6 separate regions of the Homo sapiens genome follow, and regions 2, 3, 4, 5 and 6 are each linked to region 1. Evidence: promoter capture Hi-C in 16 types of primary human blood cells and fetal thymus (Javierre and others, 2016). All regions are on one chromosome and are shown on one strand. The core of a region is centred on a gene start or on the middle of the fragment in contact, and the rest is flanking DNA. Distances in the headings are between cores, read along the strand shown.

What was found. Contacts are between HindIII fragments. The CHiCAGO score rates a contact against its expected background, and 5 or more counts as called.
Region 2: a fragment that was not itself captured here is called in contact with the fragment with the promoter of HPS4 in region 1 in 2 of 17 cell types (total B cells and erythroblasts); the score reaches 5.6 in total B cells.
Region 3: a fragment that was not itself captured here is called in contact with the fragment with the promoter of HPS4 in region 1 in 2 of 17 cell types (total CD8 T cells and naive CD8 T cells); the score reaches 6.1 in total CD8 T cells.
Region 4: a contact is called between a fragment that was not itself captured here and the fragment with the promoter of HPS4 in region 1, in 1 of 17 cell types (naive CD8 T cells). The highest score is 6.8, in naive CD8 T cells.
Region 5: a fragment that was not itself captured here is called in contact with the fragment with the promoter of HPS4 in region 1 in 1 of 17 cell types (fetal thymus); the score reaches 6.2 in fetal thymus.
Region 6: a fragment that was not itself captured here is called in contact with the fragment with the promoter of HPS4 in region 1 in 3 of 17 cell types (naive CD8 T cells, non-activated CD4 T cells and total CD4 T cells); the score reaches 11.4 in naive CD8 T cells.

What each region holds. Positions count from the first base shown.
Region 1 is chr22:26,481,630-26,485,307 of GRCh38, forward strand. It overlaps HPS4 (HPS4 biogenesis of lysosomal organelles complex 3 subunit 2), which reads right to left and starts at 2,154. Exons shown (of 14, transcript NM_022081.6): 1 at 2,045-2,154; 2 at 93-611. The coding sequence starts at 133. SRRD (SRR1 domain containing) reads left to right here and starts at 2,248. Exons shown (of 7, transcript NM_001013694.3): 1 at 2,248-2,470. The coding sequence starts at 2,262. RefSeq lists an enhancer at 2,202-2,321 and a silencer at 2,342-2,431. The HindIII fragment of the contact is 3,757 bases long and covers 1,340-3,678 here.
Region 2 is chr22:25,404,235-25,407,671 of GRCh38, forward strand. It overlaps the pseudogene LRP5L. Among named protein-coding and RNA genes, the nearest start is that of MIR6817, 50 kb to the right of the region's middle. RefSeq lists silencers at 1-142, 694-863, 904-1,333. The HindIII fragment of the contact is 6,552 bases long and covers 1-3,437 here.
Region 3 is chr22:27,898,152-27,902,013 of GRCh38, forward strand. The region is part of intron 3 of PITPNB (phosphatidylinositol transfer protein beta); the gene reads right to left. Among named protein-coding and RNA genes, the nearest start is that of PITPNB, 19 kb to the right of the region's middle. The HindIII fragment of the contact is 2,051 bases long and covers 646-2,696 here.
Region 4 is chr22:27,877,471-27,881,265 of GRCh38, forward strand. The region is part of intron 7 of PITPNB (phosphatidylinositol transfer protein beta); the gene reads right to left. Among named protein-coding and RNA genes, the nearest start is that of PITPNB, 40 kb to the right of the region's middle. The HindIII fragment of the contact is 3,859 bases long and covers 529-3,795 here.
Region 5 is chr22:25,069,039-25,072,509 of GRCh38, forward strand. The region is part of intron 6 of KIAA1671; the gene reads left to right. Among named protein-coding and RNA genes, the nearest start is that of KIAA1671-AS1, 42 kb to the right of the region's middle. RefSeq lists an enhancer at 585-1,135. The HindIII fragment of the contact is 2,931 bases long and covers 651-3,471 here.
Region 6 is chr22:27,925,711-27,929,600 of GRCh38, forward strand. All of the region lies in intron 1 of TTC28-AS1 (TTC28 antisense RNA 1), which reads left to right. Among named protein-coding and RNA genes, the nearest start is that of MIR3199-1, 7.0 kb to the left of the region's middle. The HindIII fragment of the contact is 6,881 bases long and covers 1-3,890 here.

The DNA of each region.
Region 1 (3,678 bases), core at 904-3,403:
TTAACACAATCTGGCTGGGGATTTTCAATTAACCCCAAAACTCTAACCAACAGCCCAGCAAAAGCTATGCCATGGCAGGCCTTGTTACTCACCACGAGGCTGACTTTGCCTCTGTGGAGGTAGAGGTGGCCATCTACTGTGCAGTCATCCTCATTCTCTTCATTTAGGTTTTCTTTTCCGGTATCACTTCTTTCTCCCTAGCTGTGACCGTTCCTCTATCCCCCAATCCAGTGAATCTGGACGTGGTAGGTTTCAGTGTTTTCAGTCACAACTGCCACTTGGTTAGTTTTCACTCAGCATGGAAAGTTCCACTTCCCTTCCTTGCAGGTTCTTCAGTTTCATGTATATTTCCATGCCTCTTACAACTCAGGGAGAAACTATAACAGAGAATCCTAGCAGAAAAGTCAAATCCATTCCTCTGGTTTCCTAAGTATCACTGTGGCTGTCTGCAGAACCACCTCTTCAAGCTCCTCTCCAGGAAAGCCAAAAGTGGGAGATGCATGCTAGAGCTGGTGTTCTAAAGAAATTTCTAGCTTGTCTAGTTCAAACCCATCCTGAAGACTCTTATTAAACGTTTTGAAGTTTCCAGTTCAAACATCAGTGCCTTGGCTCTGAAATAAACACAAGGAATAGATATTTCAGCAACTCGTGAGAGAGCATGTGACCCAGCAGGATTAAACGAATGGTATATTTCAAAAGAGCTTTCTGTGAGGGTGACAATCATGCTTCAAAATCAAAGAGGGAGGCTTGCAGAGACTTCAGAGTAAGGGCTTTAGTTTCTCGAACAGTTAAGGGAAACACACCACAAGCTTCACGGAAGATAAAATCAAATGACAGGGTGAAAATGCTCTAGGTGTGGACAGCTATACAAATAAACCAGTTGCTGTGGTAATAATGGAACCCAAATTAAGGAACTGTCATCTTGACAGTCCAAAAGTAACCTGAACATGCAGAATTCCAGAGCAGGGCAAATTTCTAAAAAATGAAGAGAACTTTATCAAATGGCTTTCAAACTTCCACAAGAGAAAGACAGCTCAGTGTATCACGGAATTTCAGAGTCGGAAGGAACCCTGGCATCGTTTACTCTACTCTCCTGCACTCTTTTCCAAAAATTACCTTGGCTGTCTCTGCTTTACACCCTCCAGAGATGCGTGGTTCACTATGTTACATTTCTCCTTCCAACAAACTAAAATCTGCGTTCCAGATTTTACATCTGCCTCCCACTCGCTAGTCTGGATAACGCTCTGCAGGAAAACACAAAACAAGGTCTAATTCTTCCATGTGACAACCTCTTGGTCACTTCAAAACTATTGTCTAATTCTTACTGTCACTTTCTCCAAGCTTAATGCTTTAGCAACATGGTCTCAAATGTTTGCTCACCATTCTGCAATCTGTGGGTACACAATACAGTTTGTTAAAAGTCTCTAGAGACGACCCCCATTGAATATTTGACGGCCTGTAAAATCTCTATCTCTTCTCAGCTCTAGATATTTTGGATTGGGCCTCCACAGGACCACACTCATTGTATTCTATGGAGCATATTTGGGTGCCTGTGGAGGGGGTATCTCTGTTACTGGAACCAAGGACAGCAGCCTAAAACTCCCCATCCCTTGTTCCCAGAGGACTGGGCCCTACACTACCGAGGTCCTCTCTTATCTCTGAAAGGTCCAGAAGAGACCAATAATGGCCCTGGAGTAGGAAGAGACGTCGGAACATGAGCAGAAAAGGATCTGGTAGCCTGGGAAGTAATAGTAACAACGCGGGGCTGGGGCTGGTGATACTGCTGTGGGAAGGGGCCTCAGTGGGGCAGCAGGGCTGGAAAACGGACGCTAATGGCTGGAAAAGGGCCAGGAAGCTGCTGGGCGCAGCCCCCGGGGCGCAGGCAGCGACTGGTAACAGCACTAGGGCTGTGCGGTGTCTGGCCCCAGCTCTACGGGACTGGGAAATGGTGGGCGAACGCCTAAGGATTAGGCGGGGTCGGGTCACGCTCTAAGCTGGGGGCCCGCCCCTCGGTATCCCCGCGCTCCGAGCGCCGCCCACCCACCGGAGTAGCCAGGCATCCCAGTGCTCGGGGTTCGGGACTCTGGACCAGAAATGTGGGCAGCAGCTGGGTACCTGCGACTTCTGCCCCGTACCTGCGCGCGCGGCAGAGAGGCCTTAGGTCACGCGCCGCCCCGCCTACCTCCCCCTCCAGCTCCTGGCAAGCCGGCGCGCGGCGATGACGTGCCGAGTGCGCCGCACGCCGCTGACGTCAGAGACCAATGGCTGCGGCCGCAGCTGCGGCGCTGGAATCCTGGCAGGCGGCGGCTCCGCGGAAGAGGCGCTCCGCGGCTCGACGGCCGCGGCGGAGGGAGGCGGCGCCCCGGGGGAGAGAGGCGGCGCCCCGGGGGAGAGAGGCGGCGCCCCGGGGCCCCGAGGCGGAGTTCGAGTCTGACAGCGGAGTCGTGCTTCGTCGCATCTGGGAGGCTGAGTGAGTGCAGGCTCGGCCCTGATGGAATCTTTGCGCCCATGGGCAATTCTGAGCCACAGTCTCCCCATCTGTAGAGTGGAGATATAATGCACACCCTTTAAGGAGTTATTGTGAAGAGTTAACGTAGGTAACGAGCTCATTAAAGATGTGGATTATAGTAAGCGCTCAGTTAAAGGTCGTCTTTCCTTTTATTACGGTTACAGCTGCGTGACCTTGGACAATTTATAATCTCTGTGCCTCAGTTTTCTCATCTGTGAGATGGGGATGAAAATAGTACATACGTAGGTTTGTTTTGAGGATTCAATGAATTAGTAAACGGAAACCATTTTCTGGCACGTGGTAAGCACTGTGCCAGTGTTTGCTATTAATATTATGCCGATGTTGATATTATTGGTGGTGGTGACACGAGGGAAGCAACATGAACACGTGACTGCTATCATCAGGCAGCTGCTATGTGCCTGACATTAGCTTAATCATTCTACACACTTTATGTTAAACATTGCAGGCATACTAGGACCCTGGTAGCTCACTGATTCTCAAAGAGACAAAGAAAATGTGTGGAACCAGATTTCAAACCCAGGTCTTTGTGACAAAAACCAGTGCTTCCAGCTTTCCATTATGCTTGTTGCTTATCCCAGCCCAGATTCTCACATACCTTGCTCTGTACCTTAGAAAGTACATAGAGAGTGCCTAATACAGAGGAAACACTCAATAAATGTTACTTATTATTGTTATTTAGTATTATTATCTTTATTCGCAGTTTTGTTTAGGCTCAATAAATAACAGCTTTAGTTAGCACTTAAGATCAGCATCCGAAGGGCCGTCACAAGGGGAGAAATTAGATTAATTTTGTGTGCTCCTCTCCCCTAGAATTAGGGTCAAGAGGCAGTAATGTCCCAGAGTTTACCTCTGAAGAGAAAGTTGCTGACCATTTGGCTCAGCCTGAATAAAAAGCACCTGCGATTATTTTTAAGCTCTCAGAGGATGCCAGTGAGAGTGAATGTGCCTAGGGGTTTGGAAAACTCAAGGCATTTTTCATATCCCTTGACACTGTCACGATCTCCTCAACTGCTTCAGTATTCCCCAGGAGCTCCTTGCTTCTCCCAACACCCAAGTGTGGTGCAATCACCATCGCTCTGAGTAGAGATTGAGCCAGCATTTTACACGCATATCTGTGTACGCATTTACCAGTTCATAAAGCATTCCTG
Region 2 (3,437 bases), core at 373-2,872, 1.1 Mb before region 1:
ACAAAGGGGCCCAAGATCCTCCCAGCTAAACTGCCACAAACAGAACAGGAGCCCAGGCGTGCACAGGCACTTGCGGGCCGTGCCACTTGGCTGGCCATACTCCAGAAAAGCAAAACACGCACATCCGAAGAGAATGATTTAGGCAGCAAGAGGCTTGCTTCAAAAACCACATGGCCATCTCCAAATTAAAAGAACATGTGTAGCGTTTCACAAACTGCTTAAGTGTCCTGAGTCCTCCTGACCTCAACTCCACCCCTTGGGAAACACCAAAAGTTGGAGACAAAGTTGCCCGGCCTTACTCTCTCCCCACTGGAGAGTACAACTGAGGCACGAACCTGCCTCCCCTACTGTCCCGCGCTCTGGGACCATGTCACCACCCCCCCCGCCCCCCTCCGGGCAGCCGACCCGGGGAGGGACACCATCTGGGACCCCGGCGGCCACAAGGGGCATTCGGGTCGCCCCGGCACCTGGCATGTGTCAGTCCGCTTGGAAACCCACAGCCACGGCTCACAGGGGCAGCGCCACCGGCCAGGCAGCCCCGCACCCGGGCTCAGAACTTTCTCGCTGCAACCTCAGCCGGTCCTCGGAGCACGCGGGCCGGCCGCGCGGCCGCTGGAAACAGAGTCGCGAACCGGCTTCCCGGGCCAGGCCCGCCTCCGGGCCCCAAGTCCCAACTTGGTGCCCGGCCCGGGCCACACGGGCCCAGCGCGGGCTCGGCTCCTGGCTTCCTACGGGCGCGGGCAGGTGAGGACCGGCCGGCGCCGCCCGCGCGCCCTCCTCACCGGCCCGGGACGCGGCGTCCCCGGGGATGGCCCGGGCAGGGACGGCGGGGGGATCCCCGGTGCGCGCCCCAACTCGCCCCCAACTCGCTTCCAAGGCGGCGGTGGCGCCCGTGCACTTGGTCGCGGGGCCGCCCGGGCCATTGTACTAGCAGCCCGCGGTCCCGGGTCGGCCCGCGCCCACCTACCTGCGGCGGGGGCCGGGCAGCCGCACAGCGCCAGCAGCAGCGGCCACGGCGGCCCGGGCAGTGCAGCCTCCATGTTGTCCAGCGGCCGGACGGGCTGGCGCCGCGCTCACTCGGGCTCCACAGCGCGGCGGCGGCGGCTGCGGCGGCTCCTCGCGCGTGTCCCTGCATCTTCGTCTTCCCCGTTGGGCGCCGCGGACCAGGACGACTGGGAGGAGGGAGCAGGGCGCGCGTGAGCGGAAGCAGCGCCGCGTCTCCGCCCCCCGCTGACGCAGCCGCCCGCGCCCCAGGGAGCCGGCCGGCGGCCGGGCGGGCCCCACGGCCCCAGCGGCCCGGGTCCCCGCGGCCCCTCCCCGCGCTCCTCGCCCTGCCCTGGGGGCGCCGCCGGGAGGCTCGGCGCGGGGCTGGGGCGCGGGGTTTCCGCCCCGCGGGGCCCGGGGGCAGATCTGGGCCAGGAGCCCGGTGTGTTACCTGTGGAGCCTCTATGAGTGGGGAAACTGAGGCACGGGGCGGGGCTGCCCAAGGGCACACAGCGAGGCAGTTTCAGGGCAGGAAGCCTGGGGTCCCATGGTGCGGCCCTGACACTTGTTCTCACCTGTGGAGGGCAGAGGAGGGGACAGGGAGAGAACTGCATGAAGCTGGCCAGCTGGGAGTGGAGGTGGGTTTGAATTTTTACTTTAAACTAAATGTGTACTCTCTACCTTAATTATGAATTATGAGACACGAAGACTGCGAAACAGACACGCTCCTCTAAAAGTGCCTCTAGGCTGACAGGGGAAAAGTCCCGCCAGGCTTCCAGACGCCACCTTTGAGTCCTTCAACAAGCAGGCCAAGGCCTCTTGCCCACCGGTGTCAGCTCAGCCACTGAACCCTCGAGGAAGAAGAGGTGCTCGAAGGGGAAGAATCTCACCCAGGCACAGCCTGGAAGGGGCACAGAAGGGGCTCTGGAACCAGCAAGCCCAAGTTCAAACTCCCGATCTGCTACTTTCTAGAACGACTGTGCCCTTGGCGGGTCTAAATAGAACCTCTCCGGGCACTCCTTCCTCCCTTGTAAAGTGGGAACAGCAATGGCCACCTTGCAGGTTCAGAGAGGGCTTGCAATACCTCACAGAACTGGGTGCCCGCGAACGTGTGCGTTCCTCCAGATTTGTGACAAATTTGCCAGGCTGGCGTGAGGCTGAACGCCTCTGCCCTCATGGGGTTTAAATTCTAGGAAGGGAGACCGACAAAAACAAGAAGACAAAATTAAAACAACAAAAGGCCCATTGACAGAACATGAAGAATGTCATGAAAAATGAAGGGTGTTGGGCTGCAGTGTTGGGAAACTCTGGCTTAGGGAAGGAAGGACACTTGAGCTGCCACCAAGGAGCAGCTGTCCGGCAGAAGGGCAGTTCAGGAAGAGCACACATCAATAGAGGAGGCCCTGCGGCAGGGGCCAGCGTGGTCAATGGACTGGGAGGAGGAACCACATCAGGCCACGAGCTGGAGCTGAGGGGTGGAAGGTGGAGCTGGGGGAAGGAAGAGGCCAGCTGGGGCCAGCACATGTCAGACCTCAGGCAGGGAAGAGGAATTGATAATGTACCCCACCAGCAATGGGAAGACAGGCTAGGATTTAAGCAGCAAAAATCCTTTCCCTTCTTGCACCCTGTGTCCACCTCTACCTCGACCCCCTTCCGCCTGACCTCATGGCAGCCAGGGAAGCTCCAGGGTTTGTGAGGGCCGCCATCTCAGGAGAGAAACAAGGGTCTCGGGCACCTTCAGGGCCGGCTCCAGCCACACTTATTCCCTGACCTCTCAGCCTCCTTAGCCACTCTCCCTTCCCACATCTCACCCTGCTACAGCCACAGTGGCATCCCTGTGGGTTCTCAAACACACTAGGCACACTCCTGCCTCAGGGCCTTTGCACTTGCTGTTCTCTGCTACAAGTTTTTTTTTTTTTTTTTTTTTTTTGAGACAGGGTCTCGCTCTGTCACCCAGGCTGGAGTGTAGTGGTGTGATCATAGCTCACTGCAACCTCGAACTCCTGAGCTCATGCAATCCTCCCACCTCAGCCTCTCCAGTAGTTAGTTTTCGTTGTTTTGTTTTGTTTGAGATGGAATCTCACTCTGTTGCCCAGGCTGGAGAGGCTGGAGTGCAATGCCACAATCTTGGCTCACTGCAACCTCTGCCTCCCAGGTCCAAGCGATTCTCCTGACTCAGCCTCCCAAGTAGCTGGGATTACAGGCATGCGCCACCGCGCCTGGCTCATTTTTGTAATTTTAGTAGAGACAGGGTTTCACCATGTTGGTCTGGCTGGTCTTCAACTCGTGACCTCAGGTGATCCACCCGCCTTGGCCTCCCAAAGTACTGGGATGACAGGCATGAGCCGCTGTGCCCGGCTCTAGTACTTAGGACTACAGACAGGGACCATCATGCCTGGTGATCCTCCCACCTTTTCTGCTTCAACTCTTTCACCCCACTTAGCCACATGGCT
Region 3 (3,862 bases), core at 421-2,920, 1.4 Mb after region 1:
GATCACTTGAGCCCAGGAGTTTGAGACTAGCCTGGACAACATGGTGAAACCCTGTCTCTACAAAAAATATAAAACTAGCCAGGCATGGTGGCACATGCCTGTAGCCCCAACTATTCAGGAGGCTCAGGTGGGAGGATCACTTGAACCTGGGAGATAGAGGTTGCAGCAAGCTGAGATCACACCACTGCACTCTAGCCTGGGCAAAAGAGCAAGACCTTGTCTCACAAGGAAAAAAAAAATTAACTGTATAAAAGGTTTTGTGTGTGTGTGTGTGGTTTTTTTTTTTTTAAATAGAAGCAATTATTTCTTAAGAACTTCTGATCTACTACCCCAATGTAAAACCTAAGAGTTAACAGCTATTCAATCTGCACATTAATACAATGTAGTTCTTAAGAGTTAGATGACATTATACTGTTTCTTAATGCAAAAAGCCCCAGAATAAGGAGATATCTCTGAATAAAAGTCTGAATACATTTTATAGAACAGACCTGAAGAAAAATGACAATGTAAAGGACCCATGCAGAAAATGAGAAATTAAAGCATATCCAAGTATAAAATTTTGTAGGTATGGGAGATGAATGTCACTTGCTGCCTTAAGTATATTCAGAGGAAGAGAAAGGTTCAATACATGATTAATATATGAGAAGCTTGTGCAAGCATATGATAATCAGAAACAATCCCAACATATAAAGGGGCAAAAGTCATCCACAGGCCCATTACAAATAGAAAATGTTATTTGTTAACAAACAAATGGGAAAATCAGTCTTAACAGTCTTCAAATAAATGCAAATGAAGTGACTGATATAGTGACTGGAGCCTACTGTAAAGAGTAGTTTTGCTTGCACAGACTTTTCACACAGATCGAATTCAAATCCCAACATCACCATTTGGAAGCTGTGTGACCTTAGGCCTGCTACTTGGCTTCTCTGAAATTCCTCATGTGTTGAATGGAATTCCTATTACCTGCTCTGCAGGGTTATTAAGAGAATTAAATCAAATACTGGAATGTGTTTAGCACATTGCACAGTACAATGAGCTCAAAAAATGGTAGTTACTGCTTTTTAATTATAAGTTGATACGGAGCTGGGTATTTTCATATGCCTTTCTTCATTTAAATCTTCCTTAATGTCTTCACATCCTTAAAAATGAAAGGAGCTAATTCTTTGTTCACTTATTTCTTTTTTCTTTTTTGAGACGGAGTCTCACTCTGTTGCCCAGGCTGAAGTGCAGTGGCAGGATCTCGGCTCACTGCAAGCTCCACTTTGGGTTCACGCCATTCTCCTGCCTCAGGCTCCCGAATAGCTGGGGGTACAGGCGCCCGCCACTAGGCCCGGCTAATTTTTTTGTATTTTTAGTAGAGACAGGGTTTCACCGTGTTAGCCAGGGTGGTCTTCATCTCCTGACCTCGTGATCCGCCCGCCTTGGCCTCCCAAAGTGCTGGTATTACAGGCGTGAGCCACCGCGCCCGGCCTGATCACTTCTTTTCAAATGGTGGAACAATTCATTCAAACTTCAGAAACACCAAGCCAGGATAACTGAAAATAACATCACTTTAAAAGTCAAAGAGTATCTAGCTGTCCAAAAAATTTATCCCATTGCTAAAGAACTAGAACCAAAATCCCTTTAAGTGTGGGTGAGGTCTAATCAGGGTACAATGGAACACATGAGGATAATTTTTTAAGCCAAGCTACAAGACTACCTATTCATCTGAGAGTATGACAAACAGATCTATCAATGGTTCAGCTGGTCAACTTAGAAAAAGCAGGAGAGGCCAGGCGTGGTGGCTCACGCCTCTAATCCCAGCACTTTGGGAGGCAGAGGTGGGTGGATCACCTGAGGTCAGGAGTTCGAGACCAGCCTGGCCAACATGGCAAAACCCATCTCTACTAAAAATACAAAAAATTAGCCGGGCATGGTGGTGGGTGCCTGCAATCCCAGCTACTCGGGACACTGAGGCTGAATTGCTTGAACCTGGGAGGTGGAGGGTGCAGTGAGCTGAGATCATGCCATTTCACTCCAGCATGGGTGACATAGCAAGACTCTGTCTTTAAAATAAAAAATAAAAAAAAAAAAAGAAAGAAAAAACAAAAAGGCAGGAGAAACAATTCTGTATTAACTCAGACACATATTTTAACTATCCATTTATTCCTATAGTGCCTGATATGTGAAGAACCTTAATATTCATAAAATGTTCTAAAATTTGCTGACTCAAATAGAAGGAAATTGGCATTTATCATTAAAGGCCAACATGAGCCAAATCTACATGAAAATTTTAATATTTCTTTATCTCGCTCCCAAATGCCTACTATCTTATTTCTAAGATACTTTTCCCACCATGTGAATTCCAGCAATTCATTTTATGTTTTGACTGAGTTAATAAAGTCCAAATCTATAAGCTAGATTTCAAATTTACTTTTTTTTTATGTTTAACGTGAGAACATTATCAAATACATCTCTCCTCAATGAATCTAAGTAACTGACTAAACGAGGAAAATGTGCACATGGAGTAAATAAAATTAAATTTCAATTCTACTTCAAAGGTTAGAAATTTTTATTAATGGCAACCTTAATATATTCCTAACATGGTAGTTCAAGTGTGCCAGGTATATATAATTGAGAGCATATACATCATTTTGCCACCACAGTTACCACTTAGCAAGGCACTTTAGTAAAATGCAGCAGATTCCTCATTTGGAAGCTTAGCCTCCGAAAAGAACAATTATTAACTGAATGAACAATAGTAAGGCCCTTTAGTAAAATGTAGCAGATTCCTGTTTTGGAAGCTTAGAGAGCCTCAGAAAAGGAACAATTATTAACTGAATTAACAAAATGGGAGATAGGCCTTCAAAAACAAACATGCAAAAAAGACAATCCTTCAGTTGTCCTCCCAAACTATTCACAAAATGGTGCTCCCTCATGATAAACCAATACTCGGAACAGCGTTCACTTACCTCAAGGTAAACATGGCTAGATTTCAGCTGCTTAAGAGTGAAGAGTTAAGAGTTACCCATAGCACAATGCCCAGGACCATGAAGACTCTTCAGGAATACATACCGCTTCTCCCACTCTGAATAGTACTTTAAGACTATTTAACTTCAGGGTAAAATATGACCATAAGGTACACTGAACGCCTGATCTAGGCACATTCCTTTTTTAATCCTATTCCTGAGATAAATAATACCATGCACTTTTCCCTGGAAATTATTATGTCTATCTGTAAACCACACAAGCAAGACAACTTTTCCCACCCTTCTCCTTCCCACTGCAGATGAACATCAAAACACAGAAAAATATAGGGAAGAATTTGAAGACCAGATTAATTTACCATAAATAAACCAATTAATCTTTCATTTTACAATCAACTGAAATATCCCCTAAATACACTGTGATGCCTTCTCTTCACTAGTCAGGAAAAGCTCAGCTGAGAAGGCAAGAAAAGAAAAGAAAGGGCCAGGTGCGGTGGCTCACACCTGTAATCCAAGCACTTTGCCAGAGGTCAAGGTGGGAGGATCACCTGAGGTTGGGAGTTCGAGACCAGCCTGGCCAACATGATGAAACCCTGTGTCTACTAAAAACACAAAAATTAGCTGGACATGGTGGCGGGTGCCTACAATCCCAGCCACTTGGGAGGCTGAGGCAGGAGAGTCGCTTGACTCAGGGAGGTGGACGCTGCAGTGAGCCAAGATCACACCACTGTACTTCAGCCTGGGGACACAGTGAGACTGTGTCTCAAAAATAATAATAATAAATATATATATACCTACATACATAAAATACTGGGTACCTCATTCATTCATCCACTCAAATATTTCCTGTGTCCACTGCGCCAGGCCAGGGGCTGTGTAAATAATGGTGAGTACGC
Region 4 (3,795 bases), core at 1,208-3,707, 1.4 Mb after region 1:
CACTGGAGCCACAGAATACACTCATTAATTTCTTATAAATAACTGTTTTCTGTCACTGGAATACAAAAGTTGTGCTACTTCTTGGGTGTACATCTGTTACTACAGATCTCAACAGAAACTCTCAATAGAAACCGGATTCATTTCGAATACAAAGAATATTAGTTTCATGAATCTTTGAGTACAGTGGCTGCCCCCAAAAATGAAAGTACAAAATCTGTCTGTGCTGAGCCAAACTAAATGTCCCTGAGCCCAGATTTAACTCCTAATTATGAATGGGGAAGTGAGTAGGAGGTGGGGGGCAGGCTGGTAGGAGTTTCTTGACAGCTTGTGGAAAAATTGAGATGAGCTCCAGACACCAGAAACTGCTTAAATAACCATGCATGGGTTACTAGAGGTGAGGCTAAGTGTAAACTAAGGAAAAGAGGACCCAAACCACAAGCATTAGCAACTCCTTGGCACCTGCTTATAAAAGATCAACCCCTATTTTCTATCCTGTGGAGAGGGGGTGTTTTACTGGGCAAACATAAAAGCTTGAGAGAGACATTAGGATCCTGCAGCCTGTTATATAAAATGCTTTCCTTTAGCATACAATGATTAATTAGGTGTCTATTAAAATAGCTCAAAGATAATCATTAAGTTTTAAATGCATGGGTATTGCAGTTCAACTTAGCAAGGCTTATTTCCTCTAATCACATCCTAAAAATAAAGCCCAGGATGGGGAATAAAGCTGAATTAAATATGAAGATAAATAACAAACATCATTTATTAGCACTGCCCTGAATTTTCCAGTATTGTGGCACCTAAATGAGTTCCTGGATCCTATCACTGTTGACCCTAATGCCAAACGAATAACTAACTCAAGCTGACAAAATTCAAGCGAGACTCCAAAGAGTAAGTAAGCCCATTAAAAAAAAGTTTACATTAAATTTTGCAAAAGCAAATAACAGAGGTGTAAAGAGAAATAACATTTACTAACTTGTTTAAGAAACTGATTTCAACAGTTATTTTCAAATAAGCAGCTTTCTTTTCTATTTTTAATTACATCTCCCCAGTGACTCCTCAACCTTTCAGGTTCCCACAGAGTACCATTAATATAGTATAAGTAAATCTCATTAATTCAGGTCCTACTACCTTGGAATACATAATCATTCAGACAGGGGCTGGGCTGAAGTTTATCTTTGCATGATCTATGAAAAAAAGATTTGCTACACAAATTAATAGAGTAACAAGATCTCAGGAGGGCTGTTTAAACAGTTCAGAAGTGTTTTAGAGCAATTCAGAAGCATTCATTTGCATATAATTATTATGCTAATTACAAATCATTCTTATCTATTCATTAAAGCAGATTCCCAAAGGACCACTAATTGTCAATAACTTGTTGGCCTAGTTTCTGTTACTGAATGTACCTCAGAGGGACAAAACTGCATTAAAAAATATTCTATAATTCAGTCCTCTCATTAAACCTTACTGGCTTTCCACCAATGAATCCTAAAAGCTGAATTTTAAACAACTGTATTGAGAACTGAGAAATGCAGTCAAATCTACACCCCTGAACATAACACTTTTTTTTTTTGGTAATCTTTCTGATCTCAAAGAGACCCTCCATAGAGTCCTGAGATGGTGGGGGTGAGCCTGGCATGTGGGTGGTGGGAGCACTGCTAGGCTAGAGCACAACTAAACTAATCGTTCATTCCATTCTTTCTGATCTTATCCTTATCCCCAACACTGTCATGTTTATGGAGGCAGACTCCTAAAGCCTTTGGAAGGATACAAATTAATAGAGAAAGAGAAAGAAATCAGAATTTCAGCCCCAAGAAAAGGTTACAAACAGATGGCTATGTGATACACTCCATATCCTACAACACAGCAAGGAAACCAAATAGCTGTGCTCCAGGATAAGATGAGAAAGTGAGGCCCAATGGAGCAAGCTCTTGAGATTCCTGTATAGCCCAGAGCTACTGGGGCTAGTGAGCTGCCTTAAGCAGCTGCCCATGGGCTACACCCCAGCACTCTCCTCAGGGGGAGGTGGGTTCCTGCTTTGGGCAGTTCATGCACAAATATAGAATATATTTATTATTGTAATATTGTATTTATTACTAGTATATGTTTATATATTATAACACTTAAAAATGAAGATATTTCAAACTCTACTACCAATGAAATGAGTTTTAACAAGTTAATTCCATAAAGGTGTTTGTTAAACATTACATATTTTAAAATTATACTGCATATACCTGAAATGTAAGTGATACATTTAGAAAAGTTTTATTTACAAAAAGGCATGTTTCCTTAAATGACAGTAAATCACTGAACATATTATATCAATTTCCTTAAACTGAAATGGGGGAAAACACCCTAGTAAAAATTCAGAGTGAGCCCTCTCTCACTCTGAATGTTAGTCCATGATTTGGCCTTTAGCTTCTAAGTCCCAAGATTCCATTTAGTCCATTAGCATTAAGTTAACAAATATTCAACATGAAAAAGTTAAAATATGAAAAAAATTAAACATTTTTTTAAAGTAAGAACAAAATCCAATAAGCAACATCATTCCTGCTACCATTTTGAAGCACACACTTATGTGTCAGGCCCCCACATTCTCCCAGTTAATGCTCAAAAACTTGAAATAAAGGTACTGGACTATCACCACCACTAGGGGCAGGGAAGTGAAATTCTTTGCCAGAGTCCACCATCACTGAGCAGAAGAGCCAGGACTCAGATGCTGCCCTGTCTGACACCAAAGCCAACCATGATCCTTTATTGAAAAAATGTGATTTACATTCTACCATTTGATTAGACTCAAGTACCTGAAGGGACGCTTGCTCCCTCTCAGCCTAGGGAGCCTTCCTTAAAAAAGAGTTTACATGGCTGAAAAGGGGCTTTTATAAGAAATGCACTGTAAAAACTTGACTTGGAGCTGTTTATGCTTATTTCTTTACAAATATCTGCCATGAGCTGCTCAAAAACATTTTCTGACTCTCAGAGAATTTTATCCCCCACCCAAGGAACTAGAGCAAATCCTATTCACACCCCCATCACCTCCATTACCCTCCCCGCCTTTTTACTTTTAAAACATGGAAGAAATTAGGAATAAACCTTAAATTAATAATGGTTTCTAGTGAAAAAGCATTTTGTACAAAACATGCTTGTACACACCGATTTTTTTTTTTTTGAGATGGAGTTTCGCTCTTGTTGCCCAGGCTACAGTGCAATGGCACGATCTCGGCTCACTACAACCTCCGCCTCCCAGGTTCAAGCGATTCTTCTGCCTCAGCTTCCCGAGTAGCTGGGATTACAGGCACATGCCACCATGCCCAGCTAATTTTGTATTTTTAGTAGAGAGGGGGTTTCTCCATGTTGGTCAGGCTGGTCTCGAACTCCCAACTTAGGTGATCTGCCTGCCTCAGCCTCCCAAACTGCTGGGATTACAGGCGTGAGCCACTGCACCCAGTTAATAAAATTTTAAAATCCTTGCTAATGTTTAAGCAAGCACGACATAAGCAATATGTTGTTTTCCCACAAGAGGGCACTATCCAACCATGCCTTCGAATATAGTGGACATTCTCTAAATCTACTACTGGAAATGATCTGAAAGTGTGTGACCATGTAAGGCAGTGGAATAATGTAGGAAACATTTTCACATTTCTTTTTAATAGAAAACATGCCTACATTTATTTATATCTTCTTTGAAGATGGGGGAAAAATCTCTAACTTACTACAAAAGACCTTGACAACAGTCTGTTTCACAGTAAAGGCAAGATGAGACAGGCGTTTGGCAAACAGAAATTTCTTAAGCAT
Region 5 (3,471 bases), core at 866-3,365, 1.4 Mb before region 1:
AGCAGGTGTTGAGTAGGGGATCCAGGAGCGTCTGGCTTGTATTTGAATCCCTGTCTCACTGTTTAGCTGCTGCTCACCTCAGGAACCTCTTTTGACCCTGTGAGTTTTGGTTTCCTCATCTGGACAGTAGAAGTGATGATACTGCCCTCATGATATGACCATGAAAACTAAACTAGATGGTTTGGCAGGATTCTACCTTGTTGAATCCTCAAAGCCCTGAACACAGGGATAATTTGTCGCATTTTACAGAAGGGGTAACTGAGGCTCAGGAGGATGAGGTGACTTGCTAAAATCATGCTCTTTTGAAGGAAACATCTGGGAAAGTTTGCCTTGGATTTGCCCGAGGTGTGCTTTTATTGCATTTTAATCTCTGAAAATTGACATTCTCCTCACTCCCCACCTGGTGCAGCTGGCAGCTGGTGCCTCAGGGAGCTGATCCCTCCCTTTGCCAGCACCCCACTCCCCATGCTGGGCTGGGTGTCCACAGGAGTGGACGGGCCCAGGAATCATGGCTGGGAGGCCTGGGTTCCAGCCTTGCTTTAGCTACCAACTCACCGCGTGACCTTGGCCAAGTCCCTTGACTTCTCTGGGCCTCGGTTTTCCTCTCTGTAAAATGGGGATGGCCACACCCTCCTTCTGGGGGGATCAGAAGCTTAGCTGAGTTTAAAAGGAACATGACTGACATCAAAGGAGCCCGGTAAACCAATGGGATCCTGAGTTGATTTCCTTCCCTGTAACGAGTGGCAGGGCCTCCTTCTCCTCATGTGGTTTGGGGAGGAGGAACCACATACATTTGGGCTCACACGCACAGCACACAGTCAGTCCACACATGCACAAAACACACTCGTATGCACACATGCACACATACTTGACTCCACGTAAAAGCATGTACACACACACTCCTTCATGCATAAACACACACACACACGCGTGCACACATTCAGTTCCCGGGCATCACCTTCTCTCTTCTTGCCTTCTTGCCGTACAACTGAAAACCCTAAAACCCTCCGTGCCTACGGCTCCCGGGAGGGTGAGGGTCCAGGCAGCTGGGTTCAGAAGGATCCACCCCTGGACCCGCCCCACTGGACGAGAAGCCAGAGATGCCCCGGGCGGGGCTCATAGGACCGAGTGGTGGCTTCTCAGTTCCCCAGGCAGCCGTGGCCATTAGTGGAGCCGACTGGCTGGTCCCCTGGCCGTGAGCCGGCTTCTGAATGATTTATGCCGCCTTGAACTTGACTCCAGCGTGACAGGAGTGAGAAGAGCCGCTCCCGCTAGAGGAAAGCTGGAAACCGTACTGTGCTCACCACATAACCTCTGGGTGCTGGAAATGGAGTATTACTACTGCCCCAGCCTGCTGAAGCTCTTGCGCTACCTCTGGGTGAGTGGCGGGGGGCAGTGCAGGCTCCAGGACGGGGTCACGTCCTTTCCCTCTCCTCCTGCTTCCTGTCAACTTTGCTTTTTGGCTGTGTCTGGTTAGCAATGTCTCTGTTTTCTTTAAGAAATGGTGGAGGTTACAAGGAAGAGAGAATGTTGGGGAAAAAGGAAACGGGCTTGGTTTGGGAGGTAGCACAGGTTTGTAGGAAGAGCTGAGACTCCTGAACAGGAATGAAGATCCTGGATCCGATGTGGGCTTTCCTCCAGTCCTCAAGAAAACAGGAAGAACGAGAACCACTTCAGTGAGTTTTTCAGAAAGCAACATTTATTTGATTTAAAGGACTATTCTTTATTCTGAAATTACATCCCTCTTGCCTCTGTGTGTGTAAGAATGTCTGTCTTCTATGGGATGAAAATAATAGATTTTGCTTTCCTTTTCCTGAACCTACACAGTGATAGAAGAAGTTGGGACCCCTTCCCCACTAACACTCACACTGTGCTGTCTCCTCTGGATAACAGAGGAAAAAAACCAGAACATTTTCTGATGAAATGCCAAAGTCAGGGAAGCTGTGCAGAAGTGCTTTGTGAGGTATAAAATGCTTTCAGGTCTCACTTTGACTTCGCAACTGGTCTGTTTTCTGTGCCTGGGCAAGTTACTTCTCCTCTCTGGGTTTCTGTTTCCTCCTCTGTGAAATAAGGAGTGGGTGTAGGTGATTCTGGGTTGTGTGACATCCATCAGGGCTCTGGGAATAGAGGGACTTACCGAAGAATTGTCATGGGCTGGTCTCAGAGTTTTCCAGAATATTTGCCACTGGTTTCAGCACACCCAAAAGGGAAAGTCTTAGGAAATATTATCTTTCCCATTGCTGAGTGTTTGCAAATACTTCAGATGCCTTCTTGCCCAGAGAATTTTCCAGCGCTCCTAAAAATACAACTTTAGGAAACATTGCCTTTTAGCCGCCAGTCCCAGAGTGTCTCACCTCCCTCCTGAGCCCCCCAGAGCAGTGGGGAAACAGGAGATCCCCCCAGTCCATATTGTTCAATCATTGGCCTATGAACATTCTTATATAATAAATGTAAGGCAACATTGATTGATTGATTGATTGATGTTTTAATTACAAAAATAATGCATGTGCATGGTAAAAAGATATGGAAAATTCAGACAGGCACAAAGAAGAAAAGAAGTCTCCAATAATCGTATTTTTGAATTGTGTGGTTTGCAAGGTCTGGATAACCTTGATGTGCCTGGCTGCGTGTTGGGCTCTGGGCTCCATGCTGGAGATGCAGAGATGACTAAGATACAGTCCACGGTCCCCAGAACTTAGAGCTTGGCATAGGTGTTGAACTCATTGACAAATGGCTACGATCTCATGTTCATTCAGCACACACTTACCAGCAGTAGTTTGGAGCTAGCGCCAGATACTTGGAATATAGGAGCAAGACGGCATGGTCCCCTGACCGCATGGAACTTAGTCTGGTGAGAATTTGGACTTTGCTCAAGGAACTGAAACAAGGACCATGTATGTGTTAGGATGGGGGTGGTGCACAGTGCCTCAAGGGATATGGTCTCGTTGGGGTGCAGGGGCCAGGAGAGCCTCCCCAAGGAAGCTGAGTGCTGGAGGATGCCTAGGAGCTGGCAGTTGATGCTAGGGTAGGGGTCCAGGGAAGTGTGTGCCAGGCAGAGGGAACAGCATGTGCAAAGGGCTGGGGTGGATGTCAGAAAGAGCAAGAGCCCATGGCATGCCCATGGTACATTCCAGGTACTGGCCTAAGCTCATCCTGGCCAGTAGAGGCTGGGCAGTAATGCCCTCAGCCTCCTAGGGGCAGCTTTGTGGAGTGACAGAGTCACAGCTCCTCACCTGGCTGTGTCCCACCTCTCTAGTGACCTTGGGCAAGTCTTTTCCTCTCTGGGCCTTGGTTTCCCCATCTGGACCATGAAGAGGTAGGATGAGGCAGTTTAGAAAGTCTTTCCTAGATGTGATAATGAGAGAGATTTTCATTTGTCCGCTGCTTTCTGTGGGTGACCAGGTCCTGGGGGAGTGAGGAGCCACATAGGCCCACCGCTGGTTTTGCAAATTACCCACAATTTCTCTGTCT
Region 6 (3,890 bases), core at 279-2,778, 1.4 Mb after region 1:
CAATTTACAAAGTGGTGGTACCATTTTGCATTCCCAGCAGCAATGCATGAGAGTCCAGTTACTCCACATCCTCATCAACACATTTTAGCCACTCTAGTGGAAATGTGGTATCTCATTGTAGTTAAATTTGCAGTTCTCTGAAAACTAATGATGTTGAGCACTTTTTCATGTACTTATTGGTCATTTGTACATGTTTTGTCAAGTAACTATTCAACTCTTGCCCATTTTCAAATTGTTCTTTTTCTGTTTTTGAGTTGGAAGAGTTATTTGAATATCCTACATATAAGTCCTTTCTCAGATGTTTGTGTTATGAGTATTTCCTCCCAGTCAGCTGCTTGCCTTTTCATCTTGGTGGTATATTTCAAACAGCAGAAATTTTAAGTTCTGATGAAGTCTAGTTTCTCATTTTGTTTTATGGTTCATGCTTTCTGTGTACTTCCTGAGAAATCTTTGCCTAAGCCAGAGGCACAAAGATTCTTATTTTACTATGTTTTCTTCTGCAAGTTTTAAAGTTTTGGCTCTTACATTTAGGTCTGTGAGCCATTTCAAATAAGTTTTGGTGTATATGTGAGGTAAGAATCAAGTTTGATTTTTTTTTTTGCATATGTATATCCAATTGTAGCCCCCATTATTAAAAAGACATTTCCTTTACTCATTTGTTGAAAATCAGTTGACTGTGTGTATGCGGGTCTGTTTCAGGAGAGTGTTCTGTTCCATTGGTCAATATGTTTATGTAATACCACACTGCTTTGATTACTATAGCTATATAGTAAGTCTTGAAATCGGGTGGTTTATTTCCTCCAGTTTCTACATTTTCAAAATTGTTTTGGCTCTTCTAGGATTTCATTTCATTAATTTGTTTAAAAAAGAACCCTGGTGGAATTTTTATGGGACTTTTCATTCAATCTATAGAACAATTGGGAAGAATTGACATCTTAATATTGAATCTTTATAAATGGTATATCTCTTCATTTATTTAGATCTTCAATGTTTCTCAGCTCTTGGCAGCATTTTGTAGCTTACAGGGTATAGGCTTTGCAAATATTTTGCTTTATCCTTAAGTATTTTGTGGTTTTTTAAAAAAAATTGTAATTTTTAAAAATTCCTCAAGTATTGATAATATGTAAAGATAGACTTGATTCTTGTTTATTCCCCTTGCTGGACTTACTTGTTACAAGAGTGGTTTTGTGTGTTTTATAAGATTTTCTATATAACAGTCTCTGAGTAAAGACAGTTTCATGTTTTTTTCCAATCTTTATGATTTTTATTCTTTTCCTTTATGGCACTGGTTAAGAACTCTAATACTGTTGCTGTAAGTGGTGAAATCAGTTTATTGATCTTTTTTTTCCCACCAGCCCATGTAGAGAAAGTTTACCAATTGGATAGATGTTTTTACCCCGTTCTTTGATTTTTCTCTACTTATTTTCAGTTTGATTGATTTTTACCTTTTATTACTTACCTCTGCCTAGTTAGTTTTGGTTTAATTTTTTCTATTTTTAGCTTTAAGATAGAAGCCCATATCATTGCTTTTAGACTTTCTTCTCAAATATAAGCATTTAAACATATAAATTCATCTCTAAGTTCTGGTTTAGCTGCATTTATATTTTTATGTTTTCATTGTCATTCAGTTCAAAGTATTTTCTAATTTTTTTTTAACTTTGGACTATTTGGAAGTATATTAATTACCAAATATTTCAATATTCTCCACATTTTAAAGTTTCAGTTTAATTTGCTTACAGTCCAAGAATATACCCTGTATGATTTTAATCATTTCAAATTTATTGAAACTTATAATCTAGTTTGTTCTTGCTTTGTGTATTTTGAGGTTTTGTTAGTAGATCCCTACACCTGTAGGACTTTTATGTTTTCTTGATGAATTATCCTCATTATAGTTGTGGCATACTTCCCTTTATCCTTGATAATATTCCTTGTTCTGAAGCCTATTTTGCCTGATATTAATGTAGAGTTTCAGCTTTCTTATGATTTGTGTTTGCGTAGTAGGTATCTTGTTATTCCTTTTAACCTTTTTGTCATTGTAGTGATAGTAATTTGTACACAACATATAGTTGGACCTTGCTTTTTAATCCAGTCTGATACTGGACCTTTTAAGTAGAATGTTAGGCCATTTATATTTAATATAGTTATAAAATGGTTGGGTTAAATCTACCAATTTTTTTATGTTTACTGTAGAGCTTATAAGATGTATCTGTAACTTACCACAGTCTACCATTAACCCTTTTCTTAGAAAAAAAAAAAAAGGTGCAGCTCACTGCCAGCACTCATTTAATTTTACATAAACATGCTTTTTGAGGATGAAGCAAATCTGATTTCCAATGTGAAAATAAAATATAAAAACTGTTCTTGGAGTTATTTCTAAATAGAACTAACATCAGAATTGTGTGAATCATTAGAATCATCTATTTCAGAAAAATTGGATTTATCAAATTTTTGGCCAACAACTGTTCAAGAACAATGTTAACATCACTCATAGGAATGCTATGTATTCTAGGATTTGACATTTTCAGTGATTGAGAATTACTATATTTTATAAATGGAAATACCACTACTAAAAACAGAATGCTATAAATAGAATGATGTCTTTTGTTTCGGGAGTCAATATTACTAGAGCAATGCAACAATAATTATAAAAGTGAGATATTTTGTGGCAAAGGTATCTCACGGTAAACTCTGTAGCTACAAGTGCTGCCAGCAAGTATTCTTGGGGCAAATGGGAAAAGGGTTAAATGGAATTAAACTGTTTCACATAAAATGTAAGAAACAAGAGTATACTTTCATCTCTCTTCTTGTTTTTACAATCTCACAAAACATCATTATTTTGCTTTAAAACAGTCAGTTATTGGCCGAGCACAGTGGCTCACGCCTGTAAGCCCAGCACTTTGGGAGGCCGAGGCAGGTGGATCACTTGAGGTCAGGAGTTCGAGACCAACCTGGCCAACAGGGTGAAGCCCCGTCTCTACTAAAAATACAAAAATTAGTCAGGCATGGTGGCACATGGCTGTAATCCCAGCTACTGGGGAGGCTGTGGCAGGAGAATTGCTTGAACCCGGGAGGTGGAGGTTGCAGTGAGCCAAGATCATGTCATTGCACTCCAGCCTGGGCAAAGAAGTAAGACTCTGTCTCAAAAAAAAAGAAAAGAAAAAAAGTCAGTTATCAACCAGGTACAATTTCTCATGCCTGTAGTCCCAGCATTTTGGGAGGCCAAGGCGGGAGGATCACTTGAGGCCAGGAGTTTGAGACCAGCCTGGGCAATATAGCGAGACCCTATCTTTCAAAAATTTTTAAAATAAAACTGAGAAAATAGTATTTTCTATTCTCTTGCTAACATTTGTTCAATATTTACTTTATGCTGGGTATTCTAAGTGCTTTGCATGATTTAATACATTTAATCTTGTAAGCAAACACATGATGTAGGTACTACTATCTATTTTACAGTTAAGCAAAGTGAGAGACAGCTAATTAACCCAAATTTAGTCAACTAGCTGGAATGTGAACCCAGCCAGTCTGGTACCAGAGCCTGAGTTTTTAACCACTTTGCTATACTGCCTTCCTAAATTGACCATGACCTCCAGTATAGTTTCAAGCAGAACATATAAAAGTAGGCATTTATTTTTTTTAAGAGACAGGATCTCCCTTTTTCACCTAGGCTAGAGTGCAGTGGCGTGATGGTAGCTCACTCCAGCCTCAAATTCCTGGACTCAAGGGATCCTCCCACTTCAGCCTCCCGAGTAGCTGGGACTACAGGCATGTACCACCCCACCTGGCTAATTTTAAAACTTTTTTTTTTATTACATGGGGTCTCACTGTGTTGCCCAGGTTGGTCAAACTCCTGGCCTCAAGTGATCCTCCCTCCTTGGTATCCGAGAGTGCTG